2 separate regions of the Homo sapiens genome follow, and region 1 is linked to region 2. The links are contacts of gene promoters, found by promoter capture Hi-C in blood cells and fetal thymus (Javierre and others, 2016). All regions are on one chromosome and are shown on one strand. The core of a region is centred on a gene start or on the middle of the fragment in contact, and the rest is flanking DNA. Distances in the headings are between cores, read along the strand shown.

What was found. Contacts are between HindIII fragments. The CHiCAGO score rates a contact against its expected background, and 5 or more counts as called.
Region 1: a contact is called between a fragment that was not itself captured here and the fragment with the promoter of SORCS1 in region 2, in 1 of 17 cell types (M1 macrophages). The highest score is 5.1, in M1 macrophages.

Annotation. Positions count from the first base shown.
Region 1 is chr10:107,830,834-107,833,533 of GRCh38, reverse strand. No RefSeq gene overlaps it. Among named protein-coding and RNA genes, the nearest start is that of LINC01435, 240 kb to the left of the region's middle. The HindIII fragment of the contact is 2,570 bases long and covers 1-2,566 here.
Region 2 is chr10:107,163,337-107,166,036 of GRCh38, reverse strand. It overlaps SORCS1 (sortilin related VPS10 domain containing receptor 1), which reads left to right and starts at 1,331. Exons shown (of 26, transcript NM_052918.5): 1 at 1,331-2,068. The coding sequence starts at 1,511. RefSeq lists a silencer at 1,422-1,615. The HindIII fragment of the contact is 2,762 bases long and covers 205-2,700 here.

The DNA.
Region 1 (2,700 bases), core at 32-2,531, 670 kb before region 2:
CACCAGTACATACCTGTCTTCTACCAAATTTTCAACCAAACTCTTATTACCAGTGTCCACTTGTGTCTATCTTACTTAAGCCAGTGTTTGCATCTTGTCTTTCCTTGCAGTTTTTTTTCCCCTCCTTAGACATTTTTTCTAGCTTATTGCCTTGCAATTCCATCTTCCTGATAGGATCAAGAAAAGTTGTGAATTTGCATGGGGTATCATCACTGAGAAATATAGTTTGCTAATTTGCCTCTTGTAAAATTATATCTTGCTGTTAATTAATTTGCACATATCTGATTAGTAGTAAAAATGTTTGTTTAAATAGTTGAGACTTCCACTTACATTTTTATTTATGAAGAAGAAACTTCATCACATTTAAAGAACTCTTTCTTCATTCTCTGTGCCCCCAGCCTCAGGAACAAGTTCTTGATTTTTTTAATCAAATGGTCACTTTCAGATTAGTATCTTCTACAACCTGCCAAGTTTTAACCTAGAAATTGCTGTTTCTCATCCTCATTGTCTTAAGATTCTATTTTCCTCTTTCCAAGGGAAATTTTACACCAATAGGTTGAAGTTCCATTTTAAAGCTAAGTAGCCACAGTGGTATTAAACAAGGGGGTGGTGAGATGAAAGCTGGATCTAATTGAAAGTAGAATCAATTTAGCAATTTTTTTTGCTAATTTCTAATGATTGATTAATAGACTCCATAATACTACATAAAACTCTAAAATCTTGATTTTTTCAGGGATATTTTGGGGAAAACAAAATTAGAAAAAATTTTATATTTTGAATTTTTTCTTGCAGATTATGATATAGAGATTTGATTTTATTAGAGTATAAGCATCCCTCCCAATGCCTCAGAAGTTTATCAGTCTAAGTCAGAGGTCAAAATAACAAAAACTATCCCAAAGGATTTATTCTAAGTAATAAAACTGAATAATGCTTGTACCCCTGTTTTCCATGTTAACAATGCCAAGGTACAGAGAAAAGGAACCTATTAATTCCCATTTCAAGAAGACATTGTCTTCCTATTAAGAATTTATTGTGGATCAATGGACAGAAATATCCAAGGGATGTTTTAGTCCAGTCAAGGTCAGTGAGGTCAACAAATCTGTCTTCCTGCTTCTAAAGAGTTCTCAGGAAGATTAAACAGCTGATATCATCAAAAGATGTGTAGATAAGGAGTTTGCAGAACTCAATTCTCATCCTAATCTTATTATTGACTAGTTTTGTTACTGGACAAATTTATTCAGGACTATAGGTTACTCAATTAAAAAATGACAGAAATAGAACCTAATAGTCCCAAGGGCAGCTATAAAATTCTGTGGGACAGACATTATTTCCTATCTTAAAACTTGCCAAGCAAAGTAATTTCATATCTTTCCTATAAGGTATTCCCAAAGATCTGTACAGAGACAGTATATATCTTGCACTGTACTTAAGTATCTTAGTGTGTGTTGTTTAAGGAAGTTGGATCATACGCATGTTAAGTAGTCTCCATTCAAGTTTCTCCACCACATTTGGTAATTTTTTGTCAGTCAGAACCTCAGTGATTGTAAGTATGTTTGGCACCTGATACTGTTGAGGTTAAGAAAAGTCAGAGTAGTGGTTAATTATATGGGTTCTAGAGTCAACTGGCCTGAGTTAGAATTATCAATTATCTTTCACTAGTCTTGTGACCTTAGGCAAGTAAATTTAACTTATTGAATTTTAATCATTCTTACCTATAAAATTACGACTCTACTAAACCAACCTACTGAGCCAAATGGGAATGTGAAATGGGCCTTCCATGTAAATCATAGTGCTAGTACATAAGGACAATCCAATATATGATAGTTGTTATTTTTATCCACCCAAACCCCTCTATCTGAGCTATTTTTAGAAGCTATAAAGTATTGTTTAAAATATGGCTGATGTTTCTAGGTAAGTTGTGGCATAAAGCTGTTTCCTTACTTTGTTCTTCTATAAAAGTGGACATTATTAAATCGAGCTAATAAACTCTGACTCATAGTCCCTACTTCTACCTCTATCTTATTAAGTTTTTGGTCTTTCTAGAATTACTTTATTTCATAGAATAGTCCCCTTGTAAGAAATTTAGAGACATAAGAGAATTTTCTCATTGATTCTTTGGCTTTCATTCTGCTAAAGACAGATACCTCTATGCAGCCTATTCAGATAGAGCAGATTGTTAAAACCAGACCTCTCCCCAGTTTATTTCTCAGATATTTACTGAGCATTTACTGTGTGTCATGTAAACTTCTAGATGCTGTAGTGGATAGTGAGAATATTGGGAATTTTAATTTTTTTCTTGCCTCAGTAAGTGAAAGTCTGCTATCCACTGACTCTTCATCACCACGAATGTCAGAATTCAAATCCTCAGTATCTGAGAGATCTCCACGGAGTGTGATTGGTGGTGGTAGGTTTAGTAAAAAGTCAGCAGCCAGACAGTCTCTCACTCCAAAGTCTCCTCTCATCCGTACTGCAAATGGAGTCTGCAGCCTGAAGGAAGGGGCCCATTTCCCCTGCTAACGTTTATAAAGTTTCTTGATTGTCCATGTGTGTCCCTTTCTTTCAAGCTTTACATATCTGAGGTTTTATTTTTCTTCTTCCTTCTTCCTGGATTTTCCCCCTCCCTTAACTTTAGATCTCTAATCTGCACCACCTTTTGTATTTTCTCTTTCAAAAATTTTAAATTTTTTGACAAAGATTATG
Region 2 (2,700 bases), core at 82-2,581:
AAACTGTCTACTTTAAAAAGGATTGGATTTTGAGAAATCCTTTGCCGTTTTCAAAGCCCATTCACCTGCTATAAATCTTCATCTGAACTTACGAATAGTAGCAGGGTGCTAGGCTGGGCAGATACTATAATCATACAATTATAGAATTTTAGGAGCGGAAGGGATTTTAAAGGTCATCTAATGTGACCATTTAATTTTAAAGCTTAGGAAGCTGACAGATTGTGATTTGTCTGAGGTCCCAAAGCAAACCAGTGGCAGAGCACCATCACAGACTTGCTATTAGGGATCTCAAAGCATGTGGCAGTAGCACTGGGCCAGGCACCAAGTGACACAGAATAACTATAAGTACTGTGCCTCCTTTCCTGTATTTATTTGTTATGCAGATATGCATTAGACTCACAATAAATATTTATTGAACTAATGACTGGCAGATTTCCTCCCATGTAGGGTACTGTGCCACGTACTGAGGAAAATGGTAAACAAAAAACAGGTCACTTCCTCCAAGTTGCTCGAAATTTGATCTTCCTGTCCTCAATGAGTTTGCAGTCTCTTAGGGAAACCAAGATATATACGCTTAAAAAACGCGTAGTGGAAAGCGTTTTCTTAAATATGATTGCATGCAGGAAGATTGGGTTCAAATTCAGTGAATGCTTTAGGAGGTTAGGAGAGAAATCTAAGCGTTAAAATTGATGGGAAAAAAAATCCCCCAAACTAACACACACACACACACACACACACACACACTCACACACGAGATCATTTAATTACATCACTCTCTGCTGCTGCCTTTCCGGGATCTCCCCCCAGGCTGGGACACACAGGCTCTGCTGCGGGTAAGGTCAAGATGCCAACTCAGGAAGCATAAGAGAGGGAAGGAGCAGAAGCCCACCCATCCCTATCTCCTCAACTAGAAAAGACCAGAAAGACGGAGAAAAAAGGAAACAGCAACATAGACTCATAGAAACAATAAAGCAGGAATAGGAAGCTCCCGACACATCGACTGCTCCGGGAGCCCGGGGTCGACCGCCCCCGCGGGCAGGGTGCGCGGACTCAGCGCCGGGACCCGCGGCCGCGGGGGCGCAGAGTGGGCGGCGGGGAGAGGCGGCGGCAGCGCCTGCGAGGCCGAGGGGAGGTCGCCGGCGGCGCCTCCAGCGCCCGGAGACCCGGTGCGCAGCGCAGCTCGGCCGCGGGACGCGGCGCCCGGAGTCCCGGCAGCGCCTGCCCTCCCTCCCGCGTCGCCCGCCAGCGCCCGCGCCCGCTCCGCCAGTGACTTCAGCTCAGCTCCACCCCCGCGCGGCGGCGGCTCGCTCCGTCCGGACCCGCGCTCGGCACAAGCCCAGCCCGGGCAAGCGGCCGCCACCTGCCCGGCGCCGCCTCCGCCCGCCCCCACCGCGGCGCAACTTGGATGGAGTTGGGGTCCTGAGCGCCGGCCCCCCACAGCCGCCAGCGCAGAGCTCGTGCCGCCACCTTCGTTCTGGGACCCCTCTCTCCGCTGCTCTTCGCTCCCGCGATGGGAAAAGTTGGCGCCGGCGGCGGCTCCCAAGCCCGGCTGAGCGCGCTCCTCGCCGGCGCGGGGCTCTTGATCCTCTGCGCCCCGGGCGTCTGCGGCGGCGGCTCCTGCTGCCCCTCGCCGCACCCCAGCTCCGCTCCACGCTCGGCCTCGACCCCTAGGGGCTTTTCCCACCAGGGGCGGCCAGGCAGGGCTCCTGCCACGCCCCTGCCCCTCGTAGTGCGTCCCCTGTTCTCAGTGGCCCCCGGGGACCGAGCGCTATCCCTGGAGCGGGCTCGGGGCACTGGGGCATCCATGGCGGTTGCTGCACGCTCCGGCCGGAGGAGACGGAGCGGAGCGGATCAGGAGAAGGCAGAACGGGGAGAGGGCGCGAGTCGGAGCCCCCGGGGAGTGCTAAGAGATGGAGGGCAGCAGGAGCCTGGGACTCGGGAGCGGGACCCGGACAAAGCCACCCGCTTCCGGATGGAGGAGCTGAGACTGACCAGCACCACGTTTGCGCTGACGGGAGACTCAGCACACAACCAAGCCATGGTCCACTGGTCTGGCCACAACAGCAGCGTGAGTAGAATGGGACTGAGGGTAAAGGGGTGGAAAGATGGAAAGGGTTAAAGTCGGCTGTGTGATCTGATGGAGAATTGGGGGGAAATAGGGTTTCTGGACATGGGAGATGCTGCAAACTGGTCTCTGCCCACTTCCCCCAAGAGTTAACATCACCTACTAGGAGACCAACCTCCCCATCTCTCCCACCAACACCATCAGAGTCCTCTCCAAATGCCACAGCTTCAAACTGAGGAGTCAAATCCCTATTTCCTGTTGCCTTGGTCGCATTGGTGTGTGGAACTGAAGACCAGGTAAACAGAGGGGTTAAAGTTCTCCTAATACAGAGATGAAAGGGTTAAATTTCCAGGCAAGCTGACATCCCCTCAAGTGACTTTCCCTTTACTTGCCAGACCTATGTACTGGCTCAAAGAAGATTAAGAAGACCCATATATGTAGGCGTTTTATTTTATTTTATTTTAATTTCATGCGGAGCTCCTAACCCCTTCTTCTCCACAAGGGAGAACTGCAGTGGAGAGTATATAAGGTGTTCTTTAGTGTATCCTCTGCTTTAGGGACCAAGTGGATGCAAGTTTCAGGGCAGGAACTCTCCAGCATCTTCTAACAGCGCTAAGCGAGGGTGTTTTGAGAAC